Regions from separate parts of the Homo sapiens genome. Here regions 2, 3 and 4 are each linked to region 1. The links are contacts of gene promoters, found by promoter capture Hi-C in human tissues and cell types (Jung and others, 2019). All regions are on one chromosome and are shown on one strand. The core of a region is centred on a gene start or on the middle of the fragment in contact, and the rest is flanking DNA. Distances in the headings are between cores, read along the strand shown.

Region 1 (3,392 bases), core at 528-3,027:
ACACACACACCTCTCCTTGTTACACCCATACACACAGCTGGGTGTCATATGCACACGTGCCCTGTCACATGGGGACCCATCCTTCCTTCTCCTTTTTACACACCCTCGTGCGTTTCACCCACAAGCCCCAGCCTCTCCCTCGTCATACACCCACCTTCCCTGTTGCACACACCCCCTCTGATGTCACTGTTGCACACCTCCATGTGTCACACCCAGCCACAGCCTCTCTGGAGTCACACCCACACCCTTTTCTTGTCACATCCCCTCACCAGCCACGCCTGTGTCACACACACTGGACCCCTTTCCTCTGATCTACACGGCCTCTTCTGGCTGACACCCAGAGCCAGCCCATTCGGTGTCCCCCACACACCTCCTTGCATGTCACACACACCCTCTCATGTGTCACACTCTGCCACAGCCCCCTTGGGGGTGACAAGCACACACCTTTCCTTGTCACACGTACCCGCTGGAGGGTCTCAAACATGGAGCCCAGCCCCTGTCCCCTGTCTTTCTCATACACCCCCCTATGCTGTCATATTCCTGATCCCTAATGTCACACATCCAGGCTGTAGAGGGCACACATACACACACACGCACACACATACACACCTGTCCTAGCCTCACATTCTCCCACCTAGCTTTACACACCCACCATTTCCTCCATTTCACCCCACACACCTACCCAGCCTGTCCCCACGCACGATCCGGCCAGGGCCACACAAGCCTCCATCTGGGACAACCCTTGTTCAGGACATCCCCAGGGAGGGAGGCTGGGAAGCTCCCGGTCCACAGGCCTCTACTCCTTCCCCTCCCCCAGCCAGGACACGCGAGCTCGGGGAACACCCCTGCTCCGAAAGGGTCACATCACACACCCCTCAAGGACACACAGACACCTGCCCTGAGGCTCCCACGCCCCCCATCTTCTGCGCCCCCCAAGGACACTTATCACCCCCTCCCCCCCACCCCTCTCCTCGCAGACAAAGCTCCCAGCCCCGGGCCTCAGCGAGAGGAGGAGGGGGTCCAGCCCCCTCCTCAACTCCCCGCTCTGTCCCCCGCCTCGGGGAGGGGTGTCTCTCCCCTCCCCAGAGCCCTTGCACCTGCCACGGGAGGGGGGGAAAGGATGGAGAAAGGCGAGGCCCCCTGCCCGCTCCCCCGCCCCGAGCCGCAGCCCTTTCTCACCTCCCGTGTTGCTGCGCTTGGTGCAGACCACCTCGGGGGGCGTTTCGAGGGGCCTCTTGCGGGAATCCGGGGCCTCGGGCTCCATGGGGGGGGCCTGGGGCGGCGGCTGCTGCTGCTGCGGCGGCTGCGGCGGCGGCGGCGGCGGCTGCTGTGGCGGCGGCGACGGCTGCTGGGGAGGCTGGGGTTGCGGCGGCGGCGGCGGCGGGGGCGGCGGCGGCTGCGGGGCCGCGGAGGCCGTGAAGAGGCCGTGCACCGCGCCGGCGGCCATCATCCTCATGGTGGGGGGGGGCGGGGGGCGGGGGGCGGGGGAGGGGGAGGGGAGGGGAGGTGGGAGGGGGAGGGGGCGGTGGAGGGATGGGGGAGGGGGAGCCCCGGAGAGGGAAGGCGGGGGTAGGGGGGAGCCGGTTCTCGGGGGGCTGACAGAGCCTGGAGAGCGGCCGTGAGCAGGATGGCAGGGCCGAGGGGGGTCTCCGATAGGGCCGGGAAAGAACTGAGAGGTGGGGTCTCTCCTGGGACCACAGAGGCTGGGGACTGGACGCGCCACTGGGGGGACGGGACTCCCCGCTTCTTCTTGGCTCCCTGGGGCAAGAGGGCCGAGCCCCCCAGACCCTGCTCGGGGTGGGGGGCCGGAGGAGCGTGGCCGGAGTGGGAGGCGGAGGCGGCCGCTAGTGGGGGCCCGGGGGGCGGCGGGCGCGGGCGGCGGCGGCGACGGGGCTGGCGGTGGCTGCTGGCCCGAGCATCTTCTTCCCGGAGGCTCCCACAGCGCCTGGCCCCTCCCACCCAACGAGGTCACGCCCATGCCGGGTAGGGCCACGCCCTTCGGCGCCCCCATTGGTCCAGCCTTGAAGCCTGGACCACGTCCCTCTGGGTTGGCCACGCCCCTCCCGGCGGCAGAGAGCTGGACCCGACTCCCCCAGGCTGCTGGGAGGACCCCGGGCTCCTCCAAGCCGTCCCCACTCCTCACCTTGAATGAACGTTTATTGAGCACTTACTGTGTGCCAGGTCCGGTTCCAAGCAAGCACGTCACAGACGTTATCGCATTTACTCCCCAGAGCGACCAGCTCTGTGAGTTACGCTTATTATCCCTATTTTACAGATGAGGAAACAGCCTTAGGAGCTTACTTTGACTTCACTTGGTCAAGACAAGAAATTTCGACTAGGCGCGGTGGTTCATGCCTGTCATCCCAGCACTTTGGGAGGCCGAGGCGGAAGAATCACTTGAGCCCAGGAGTTTGAGACGAGCTGGGCAACAATATTGTGAGACCCCATCTCTACAAAAAAAAAATTTTTTTTTTAATTAGCCAGGCGTGGTAGCACATGCTTGTAGCCCCAGGTACTCTGGAGTCTGAGGTGGGAGGATCTCTTGAGCACAGGAGTTTGAGGCTGCAGTCAGCCATGATCAAGCAACTAGATTCGAGCCTGGGAGACAGAGCAAAACCTTGTCTCAAAAAAAAAAAAAAAAAAGAAAGAAAGAAAGAGAAAGAAATTTCACTTCACTCTTTTTCAATCCTTTCAGCTGGGAAATTCCCCTTCAAATCTTTCATCCATCCTTTGAAGAATCAACACCGTGATGCTGAAAGGGCTCAGAGGATTGAATTCACTGAGCTGGAGTTGCAGCCTGCAGCACCTGCCCTGGGGCACAACTGGCTCTCCATTCAAACAACAGCACTCAGGGCCTACCTACTAAGTGCCAGGCACTGTCCCTGATGCTGCGATACAATAGAGAACAAAACAGCCTTGGCCCTTGTACAGTATTACTACTCATGTCATTAAGAAAAATTTGTTTTCAGATGACAAAGTGGAGGCCTGGGAACATTGAGGGTGGCTTCTTCAAGGGCACACAGCTTGAGAGAGAGAAACTGGGATGAGAACGCAGGACAAGTCCAATTTCAGAGCCCAAAGTCATTGGAACTAGGGTGCCTTTCTTTGGAATGGATCATTGCTATTATTCTGTGTTCCTTGATGCAAGAATTTCCTTCTCCCTGGGTTCTTAACCTCCAAGGAATCTTTCCTTCCTGGGTTGGTCAGAGGCAAGATTAGGCTCAGAAGGGGTCTGGATGCAGGTAATTGTGGCCACTGCGTGATCTGCGGCAGGGGGATCGGCTCCAACCCCCCCCTGCTCCTCCCTTGCCATGCTCTCAGGTCCCCAGGATGGGGGAGGGTAGCAGATGGCCTGGGGTGGATGGGGTGGCTACCCATCTGTCCCCTCCCCC
Region 2 (3,392 bases), core at 414-2,913, 200 kb after region 1:
ACTGTGTTGGTGTCACTCACTGTTGTGTATCAGTGATTGTTGTGGGAAGTCAGGGAACCCGAATGGAGGGACCTGCTGAAGCCGTAACAGAAGAACATAAATTGTGAAGATTTCATGGACATTTATCACTTCCCCAATCAATACTCTTATAATTTCCTATGCCTATCTTTAATCTCTTAATCCCATCATCTTCATAAGCTGAGGATGTATGCTGCCTCAGGACCCTGTGATGATTGCATTAACTGCACAAATTGTTCGTAAAGCATGTGTGTTTGAACAGTTTGAAATCTGGGCACCTTAAGAACAGGATAACAGTGATTTTCAGGGAACAAGGGAGATAACCTTAAAGTCTGGCTGCCTGTGGGCTGGGCAGGACAGAGCCATATTTCTCTTATTACGGAAAACAGGTAAGAGAAATATTGCTGAATTCTTTTCCCAGTAAGGAATATTAATAATTAACAGCCCTGGGAAAATAATGCCTTCCCAGGGGGGCCTCTAAAATGGCCACTCTGGGGGTGTCTGCCTTATGCAGTTGCAGATAAGGGATGAAACATGCTCTGGCCTCCTGCAGCACCCCCAGGCTTGCTAGGATTAGGAAATTCCAGCCTGGCGAATTCTAGTCAGACCAGTTCTCTGCTCTTGAACCCTGTTAAGATGTTTATCAATGACAATGTGTGCACGGCGGGACATGAAACTTCATTAGTGATTTTAGTTTCACCCTGACCTTGTGATCTCGCCCTGACCTTCTGCCCTTGTGATCTTTTGTCGCCCTTGAAGCATGTGATCTCTGTGACCCACACCCTATTCGTACACTCCTTCCCCTTTGAAAATTGCTAATAAAACCCTATTTGTACACTCCCTCCCCTTTGAAAATTGCTAATAAAAACTTGCTGGTTTTATGGCTCAGGGGGCATCATGGAACCTGCCGACCTGTGATGTCTTCCCCAGACACCAAGCTTTACCATTTCTTTCTTTTGTACTCTTTCGCTTTATTTCTCAGACTGGCCGACACTTAGGGAAAACAGAAAAGAACCTACGTTGAATTATCGGGGGCTGCTTCCCCCGATAAGTGATAGCCTGAATGAGTCACTTTCTGGGTCAAGAGCCAGGAGCTAAGTCAAGGGGAGTCAGCCAGAGGGAGGTGCTATTCAAGACGAGATTATGGGTGGGGTTCAGATTGACAGAGAGAAGAAGCTATTGGGCAAGAGTGGTGACTTGCTCACTCAGATGAGTTCGAAGATAATCTCTACTGATAAAACAATCAAACTTAGACCATACCATTCATGGAATGACATGGAGATGCACATTTCAGAGTATTGTGTCTTATTTTTCTCTATCTCCATTTTCTGTCAGGGCAAATTAACTCTGAGTACAATTTACAACTGCCTTCTCTTCCTTGGACTCAGCATAGCTCTCAGCAGTCTCCTGTCTTATAGGGACAGCCTGCTGTTTCTCATATTCCATAGGTCTAGTCTATTGTTGACTTACCCAACCTCTCAAGGAGAAAATGCGAGTACACTTACTTTATCTTTTGATAACTCCCTTCTTGAACTCCCCATCAGTATGAAGCTCACCCTGTTGAATGGCCTAGATGGAGGATATTACAAGGAACCAAAAGGACATTCAGGAAAAGTGAGAATTTTTTTTACCAAGTGATAAGTTTTATAAGAATGAAAAGTGGGTGCCGTACAGGTAAAATTGGTGCAAATAATATATTGTTACACCAAAAGGAATTTGAAGCTCTGAAGAACTTTCACCAGGAATCTGAATTGCAAAAAAAAAATTATGTGTGATGAAGATTAATGATAGAAACATCCCTAATTCAAAAGGTCTTATTTTTGCTTTGGATTAAGCATGCAAAAATCTGGAGTAGTCCTTGGCAGGAAGTGTTCTTGCTGTTGACTCCAGAGATACGGACTTTGGAAGTGGAAGCCATTAACCTGGATGTAACTGAATGGTTATATAGTCTAAGGTAGAAGAAATCGTGTAAAGCCTGATAGTAAAAAGTGGCAAATTGTCCTGATTATCAAGGGGGGAATTGGGTAGTTACTACACAATCGGCAGAAGAGAGTATAACTATACCACTCACACAAGGCATTCTGTGGGATGCCTCTTAGAACTCCCACGTCCCATTGTAAAACATGGGAAAATGATAATAATCCATTACAGGAAGGACTCCTGAGGGAATGTATACTTCATGAAGACGTGAGTAACTTCACCAGGTTAAAAAATCACAGCCAGTTGAGGTGTTTGCTGAGAGCATAGGGATTATGGAATGGATAGTGGAAGAAATTTTTTTTCAGGTGGAGTTCTGTTACGTTCCCCAGGCTGGTCTTGAACTCCGGAACTCAAATGAGCCTCCCACCTCAGCCACCTGAGTAGCTGGGATTACAGGCATGTGCCACTGTGTCTAACTTGAAAGAGGAAATTTTTAAATGCCAGCTTTAGCCTCAAGGCCAGCTGCTGAAACAAGGACTAAGTTAGATATTTATATAATCTTCCTCACTTTGATGTGTATATATATATATTTTTTTTCAGACAAGGTCTCGCTCTGTCATGTAGACTGGAGTGCAGTGGTGCGATCTTGGCTCACTGTAACCTTCACTTTCCAGGTTCATGCAATCCTACCACCTCAGCCCTCTGAGTAGCTCTACAGACATGTGCCACCATGCCCAGCTGATGTGAATATAGTTTCTGTATTAACTGAGTCCTCTGCTTTTTGTCTCAGTGCCTTCATACCCCTCTATGTAATATAGGTTTATATTGGTTGATCCTTGGTATTTATAGCATGAAAGAGCAAAAGGGGTTGTTAGTCATCTGGGAGACGGACTAGCATTTTCAAATATCTCTTCCATAGAGAAGATTAAAGGTCTTTGGGTTGTAAAATGAATAGTTGCATCACATTAGGTGGAAAATAGTATTGTTGCTGCTTTTATTTGGAAGTTGAAAATGTCTACAGATGCTTATTTTTGAATGGGGTGGACTGTGCTAGACTTTCTGTTGTCAACGTGTCCCCAACACCACTGTTCCTTCTGAAGTGGGAACCACGTTTTCCAGAATCACTTCCCCTATATGGAGCCCAGAAGGTGAATTGTATGATGTGGAAAATTCAGGAATAACAAGCACTATCGTATCCTCATGTGATTCACGTTCTGACCCATTATAAAGCAGACTACCTCTGTTGGTCCATTTCCATTGCTATAAATGAATACCTGAGGCTTGGCAATTTATAAGGAAAAGAGATTTAATTGGCTCACGGTTTTATAAGCTGTACAGGAAGCATGGTGCCAGCATCTGATTCTGGTGAGGGCCTTGGGAAGCTTACAATATGGCAGAAGGCAAAGGAGGAGCAGTCACGTCACATGGCAAGACAGAGAACAGGAGAGATGTCA
Region 3 (3,392 bases), core at 656-3,155, 180 kb after region 1:
AAGAGTTTTAGAAGATATGCTGGATACTCATCCCTTATCATATATATAATTTGCAAATACTTTCCTCATTATGTGGATTGTGTTCATTTCCTTGATGCTATTGCTTGCAGTGCATAGGTTTTTAATTTTTGATGAAGTCTATTCTTTCTTTTCTCTCTTGTGCTTTTGGTGTAATATCTAAGAAAATATTACCTAACTCGAGGTCATTAAGACTTACTTGTATGTTTTCTGCTAGGAATCTTTTTAAGAAGTTGACAAAGAATAATTGTGTATATTTATGGGGTAAAATATGATGATTTAATGTATGTTTGCCTTGTTAAATGATAAATCAAATTAATTACCATATCTACCACCTAATATACTTATTACTTTTTGTCACTAGAACATTTAAAATATACTCTTCAGCAATTTTGAAATATACAACACACCATTTGTTTTTTTAAGAGGCAGGGTCTCACTCTGATGCCCAGTCTGGAGTGCAGTGGTGTGATCACAGCTCACTGCACCCTCTACCTCTGAGGCTCAAGTGATCCTTCCACCTCAGCTCCCAAGTAGCTGAGACCACAGGCACGCACCACCACACCATGCTAATTTTGTTTTTCATAGAGACGATGTCTCACTGTGTTGCCCAGGCCGGTCTCCAACTTGTAGGCTCAAGCAACCCTCCTCCTTGGCCTCCCAAAGTGCTGGGATTGCAGGTATGAGCCATCACGTCCAGCCCACAATACACTATTATTTATTATAGTCACCGTGCCCTGCAGTGGATCTCTAAAACCTATCTTTCCTGTCTAACTGTAACTTCATATCATTTGCTTATCTCCCTGTTGCCCATCTGCCCACACCAATCCTCTGGTAACTGCCCTTCTCTCTACTTCTATGAGTTCAACTCTTTTAGATTCTACATACAAGTGAGATGGTGTGGTATTTGTCTTTCTGTGGGTTGCTTATTTTACATTTCTGCTAAGAGTTTTATATGTTCGCTCTTGTATTTAGGTCTGTGATACATTTTGAGTTAATCCTTGTGTATGGTATGAGGAAGAGATCCTCTTTCTGCCCACTCTTTTGTGTATGAATATACAGTTTTCCCAGCACCATTTGTTGAAAAATCATTTGTTCCCTTACTTCATAGTCCTAGCACTTTTGTTGAAATTTGATTTCAACAAATCTAAGGGTTTATTTTCTGACTGTTAGTTTTATTCATTGATCTATATGTCTATCCTGTGTGTCAGCTCCTACACTGTCACTATAGCTTTGTGGTAAGCTTTGAAATCATGAAGTATCAATTCTACAATTTTGTTCTTTTTCAAGATCGTTTTAGTTATTCTCGGTCCTTTATGTTTCAATATGAGTTTTAGGATCAACTGATTAATTTCTTCAGAGAAGGCTGGGTCCTGTGGCTCATGCCTGTAATCCCAGCACTTTTGGAGGCCAAGGAAGGTGGATGGCTTGATCTCAGGCGTTAAGAGACCAGCCTGGGCCATATGGTGAGACCACATCTCTACCAAAAAATGCAAAAAATTAGCCAGGCATGCGGTGTGCGTCTGTAGTCCCAGCTACTTGGGAGGCTGAGGTGGGAGGATCACTTAAGCCTGTGAGGCGGAGGTTGCAGTGAGTCATGATCACGCCACTGCACTCCAGCCTGGGTGACAGAGTGACACTTGATCTCACAAAAGTTCTTTGATATGGATTGCATTGATTCTATAGATCAATTTGGGATTTTTGGCACCTGAACAATATTAAGTCTTCCAATTTGCGAACATGGATGTATTTCCATTTATTTACATATTCTTAATTCTTTTCAACAATGTTTTGTTGTTTTTAATGCACAAATCTTGCACCTCTTCTGTTCAATTTATTCATAAGTATTTTATTCTCTTTGGTACGTGGAATTATATTCCTAATTTCATATTTAGATGGTTTTTTACTAGTGTATACAATTGCTTTTTATATGTTGATCTCTTTTATCTTACAATCCTGTTGAATTTTTCTATTAGTCTTTAGGTCATAGTAGCTTCCTTAGGTTTTTTTTTTTTTTTCTTTTTCTTTTTTGAGACAGAATCTCACTCTATCATGCAGGGTGGCGTGCAGTGGTGTGATCATAGCTCAATGCAGCTTCGAACTCCTGGGCTCAAGTAATCCTCCTGCCTCAGCTTCCTGAGCAGCTAGAACTACAGGCATGTGCCACCATCCCTGGCTAATTTTTTTATGTTTTTATTTTTATACAGATGGGGTCTCGCTATGTTGACCAAGCTGGTTTCAAACTTCTGACCTCAAGTGATCCTCCCCACTTGGTCTCCCAAAATGCTGGGATTACAGGAGTGAGCCACTGTGCCTAGTCCTTAGGATTTTTAACATACAAAATCATGTCATTTGCAAATAGAAATCATTTTACTTTATCTTTCTCAGTCTAAATTCATTTTATCTTCTTGCCTAACTTTCATGGCTTGAACCGCCAATGCTATCTTGAATAGAGTGGTAAGAGTGGATATACTTGTCTTGTCCCTGATATTAGGGGGAAAGTATTCAATCTTTCACAATTAAGTATGATGTTAGCTATGAGTTTATTGTAGATGCTCTTTAACAGGTTGAGGAAACTCTCTTCTATTCCTAGTTTGTTCTTTGTATTTTATCATGAAAGAGTGTAGATTTTGTCAAATGCTCTTTCAGTATCATTTGAGAGAATTACGTGTCTCCCTCCTATAGTCTAGTAAGGTGGTGTATTATATTAATTGATTTTCATATGTTGAACCAACTTTGCATCCGTGGGATAAATCCACTTGGTCATGGCGTATCGTTCTTTATATATGCTGCTGGATTTGGTTTGCTATGTTTTGTTGAGGATTTTTGAACTTATATTCATAAGAGATGTTGGTCTGTAGTTTTTTTTCCTTGTGATGTCTTTGTCTGGTTTCGGTATCAGGGTAATACAGGCCTCAGAATAGACTGGAAAGTTGTGTTTGGTTTTTTTGAAAAGTTTGTGAATGATTGGTATTAAGCCTTCTTTAATTGTTTTGTAAAATTCACCATCTGGGTCTGGATGGGCATTTCCCGTGTATGGGTATTCCCCTTTCTCTGCATCCTTGCCAGCATCTGTTATTTCTTGTCTTTTTGATAAAAGCCATTTTAACTGAGATGAGGTATCTTATTGTGGTTTTGATTTGCATTTCCCTAATGTAAGTAATGTTGAACATTTTTTCATATACTTTTTTCATATACTTGAGTGTTTGTATGTCTTCTTTTGAGAACTAGGTATTCAGATCTTTTGCCCCTTTTAAAATCAGATTCTTTATTTTTCCCAGCAATACAATTATGTACATATTGTTTTATGCCATTACTTTTAAGACCAGTTAAGAGAAGAAAGGATAAGAAATAAGCAATTATACTGTTTTAAT
Region 4 (3,392 bases), core at 391-2,890, 160 kb after region 1:
TTAGTACTATAAATTTCCCTCTTACTCCTGCCTTAGCTGTGTTCCAGAGATTCTGGTATATTGTATCTTTGTTCTCATTGGTTTCAAATAGCTTCTTGATTTCTGCCTCAATTTCATTATTTACCCCAAAGTCATTCAGGGGCAGGTTATTCAATTTCCATGTAATTGTATGGTTTTGAGCAAATTCCTTAGTCTTGATTTCTAATTTGATTGTGCTATGGTCTGAGAGAGTGGTTGTTATGATTTCGGTTCTTTTGTGTTTGCTGAGGAGTGTTTCGTGTCTGATTATGTGGTCGATTTTTCAATGTGTGCCATGTGGTGGTGAGAAGAATGTATATTCTATTGCTTTTGTGTGGAGAGTTCTGCAGATGTCTATCAGGCCCATTTGATCCAGTGCTGAGTTCAGGTCCTGAATATCTTTGTTAATTTTCTGACCTGATGATCTGTCTAATACTGTCAGTGAGGTATTGAAGTTTCCCACTATTATTGTATGGATGTCTAGATCTCTTTGAAGGTCTCAAAGAGCTTGCTCTCTGAATCTGGGTGCTCTTGTGTTGGGTGCATATGTATTTAGGATAGTTAGGCCTTCTTGTTGAATTGAACCCTTTACTATTACATAATACCCTTCTTTGTCTTTTTTTATCTTTGTTGGTTTAAAGTCATCTGAGATTAGGATTGCAACTCCTGCTTTTTTCTGTTTTCCATTTGCTTGGTAGATTTTCCTCCATCCCTTTATTTTGAGCCTGTGGGTGTAATTGCATGTGAGATGGACTGCATGCAGTTTCAAGGGTTCAGGTTCACTGTTTATTTAAACCAAATACTACAGGGTATGATCTCCTGAACTAAGTGGGTGAAGTACACGTTTCCTATGAAACAGCCTTTTTCATTATCTCACAGGGCAATAACTTCTTTAGAGTTTTGATAAATATTTTAGTTCCCCCAGCAAGCATCAGATGATGAGTTAAAGAACATACCATGTTATTTAAAATATGGCATTTGTTTGTCTACATGCTGTTTATTGAGGTTCTTGGAAGCACCTTTTCATTATGTTTATAAACTGGTTACTTGCAAGTGGTTGCTTGCCAGTTTAAACTAGCTTAAGCTGTGGCAAAAAGAGGAATTTATTATCTTTGGTAGGTTCCAAATTAAAAAATAAAGTGAGCAAGAACTAAGATTAGAAGAAATTTATGAGCTTGGATGAAGGTTCCCAGTATTTCTCATTATTTTTATGTTTAATGATGTATAGTTCCTTTTCTGTAAATGATACACTATTCAGAATAATTGTTTTGGGTTGTTTGCTTCCTTCTTATTAATTTATAAATGCTCTTTTTATATGGGAGATACTAACCTTTTGTCTGTTATATGTTTTCCTCGCCTTTGTGTTTGTTTCTCAGTAATGCTGGTGGAGTCTTCTTTTTTGAGATATTTTAAATTTTTATGCAGCAGTGTCTTTTACCACTGCCCTACATCTTCTTTCCACTTTTTGGCTTCCGCTTACGTAAGGAGGCCATCTCCAACTTAAAGTTCTATGAATAGTTCTATATTTTTACTTTCTTTTTAGTCATTTTTATTCACATATAACTTTTTCTATAAGATGTGATGCTGAGTCTAAGTTAATTTTCTTGCTAATGAATGTCCTATTGAATCTGAAATTACTTGTTGACTAGTTTCATCCCTTTTCTTCTAATGTACAATGTTACTTTTCTTATATCTCAGTTTTCCATTATTAGCTTTATCTGTTGATGGACTCTGTTCAATTGATTTATGTGTAATTTTTCTAGGTAGTGTCTGGTTCATTTACAGTAGCTTTGTTTTAAATTTTAATAATAGACAAAAACTTCTCTCCTTATTACACTACATTAAGCTTTACTCGACAATATTTGTGCAGTCAGCTTTAAGAGCTCCCAAGTAATTTTCTAAACCCTCCTCCTAAAAAATAGCAAAATTTAAAAATGGGAATTCAGATGAAATTTTTTTGTAAACATTGTTTGGCTTTGGAAAGCATGAGCATTCTAATGTTTTAATACTTTCTGTCTCAGAGGTTTATCGACTTCTTTTTTTATTAGGTCTAGTTTGCTGTCAACACCCATTTAATTTTACGTAAACATGCTCTTCGAGGCTGAAGCGAATATGACTGATTTTCAGTGTGAAAATAAAACATAAAAACCCCTTCTTGGCTCATGCCTGTAATCGCAGCACTTTGGGTGGCTGAAGCAGGCAGATCACTTGAGGCCAGGAGTTTAAGACCAGCCTGGCTAATATGGTGAAACCCTGTCTCTACTAAAAATACAAAAGTTAGCCGGGCATGGTGGCCTATGCTTGTAGTCTCAGCTACTCGGGAGGCTGAAGTGGGAGAGTCGCTTGAACCCAGGAGGTGGAGGTTGCAGTGAGCCAATATTATGCTACTGCACTCCAGCCTGGGGAGCAGAGCGAGACTCCCTCTCAAACAACAACAACAAAAACAAAACTGTTCTTGGAGTTGTTTCTAAACAGAACTTGTCTCTAGTATTAACGTAGCAGAAATGTATATGATTTTACATTAGTATTAAAGATAAGAATATTCTTGGCCAACAGGAAATGGGTTAAAGCCTTGCAGAGGAGGGAAACAGTGAATTTTGTCATTCACTTAACCAGTTTTCACACACACACAGAGAAAGTCCAGAAGCCTGGCTGGTAAGAAATTCTTACCCTTTTGCTGGCATGCTACGGTTTTGGGTTCTCTTTTTCTGAGCAACTTTGGTGACCTTGCTCCCTGTGGCATAGCTGTGGGGGCCAAGCCACGTTACAAAAGAAAATGATCCCTTTCCATTTCATGGAACCATAGGCAAAAGTCTCTCCTTTTTACAAGAGGCCAACCAGTGGGTTGCATGGGAAAATAAGATATTGAATTAAATGCACAGAAAGAAAACAATTCATTGGGACATAAGTGACACAAACTTTGGTTCCACGTGCTGTCAGTTCTCTCCTTAAAAAGCCAGCACCCAAAGTTGATAGACTCACACACCCAAACAGACAGATGACAGAAAAGTCCACAGGCTTCCCCTCCTCACATGGTGTGGCAAAGAGAAAGTGAAGTGGTGAGGGGTTTTGAATAGAGTTACAGGATTGAGGGCCAGTATGACAGAGAAGGGGAGAGAGAAGGAGAGGAAGAGGGAGGGAAAACGATAGAGGGAGAGAGGGAGGGAGAGGGAGAGGAAAGAAGAAGAAAGGGAAGGAGGGAGAAAGGGAGGGAGAGGGAGAGGAAAGAAGAAGAAAGGGAAGGAGGGAGAAAGGGAGGGAGGGATGGATAGAATTGTTTCTTGGGACTGGAACCCAAACCAACTTAGGCCAGGGAAAAGGTACACTCTGTCCCACTGCCTGCTGAGTTGATCAGATCCAGGTAGTCAACGATT

What was found. Contacts are between HindIII fragments. The study calls those that stand out against the background at their distance.
Region 2: a contact is called between a fragment that was not itself captured here and the fragment with the promoter of NOVA2 in region 1, in 3 of the 25 tissues and cell types used here (adrenal gland, dorsolateral prefrontal cortex and mesenchymal stem cells).
Region 3: a fragment that was not itself captured here is called in contact with the fragment with the promoter of NOVA2 in region 1 in 2 of the 25 tissues and cell types used here (adrenal gland and bladder).
Region 4: a fragment that was not itself captured here is called in contact with the fragment with the promoter of NOVA2 in region 1 in 4 of the 25 tissues and cell types used here (mesenchymal stem cells, spleen, stomach and 1 more).

The regions. Positions count from the first base shown.
Region 1 is chr19:45,972,088-45,975,479 of GRCh38, forward strand. It overlaps NOVA2 (NOVA alternative splicing regulator 2), which reads right to left and starts at 1,778. Exons shown (of 4, transcript NM_002516.4): 1 at 1,180-1,778. The coding sequence starts at 1,264. RefSeq lists a silencer at 1,944-2,103. The HindIII fragment of the contact is 35,305 bases long and covers 1-3,392 here.
Region 2 is chr19:46,170,201-46,173,592 of GRCh38, forward strand. All of the region lies in intron 4 of LOC105372424 (a long non-coding RNA gene), which reads right to left. It also overlaps a transcript of IGFL2 not described here. Among named protein-coding and RNA genes, the nearest start is that of IGFL2, 24 kb to the left of the region's middle. RefSeq lists an enhancer at 432-982. The HindIII fragment of the contact is 4,773 bases long and covers 1-3,392 here.
Region 3 is chr19:46,150,246-46,153,637 of GRCh38, forward strand. All of the region lies in intron 1 of IGFL2 (IGF like family member 2), which reads left to right. Among named protein-coding and RNA genes, the nearest start is that of IGFL2, 3.7 kb to the left of the region's middle. The HindIII fragment of the contact is 4,323 bases long and covers 1-3,392 here.
Region 4 is chr19:46,129,495-46,132,886 of GRCh38, forward strand. It overlaps a transcript of IGFL2 not described here. Among named protein-coding and RNA genes, the nearest start is that of IGFL3, 6.5 kb to the left of the region's middle. RefSeq lists an enhancer at 3,314-3,392. The HindIII fragment of the contact is 6,419 bases long and covers 1-3,392 here.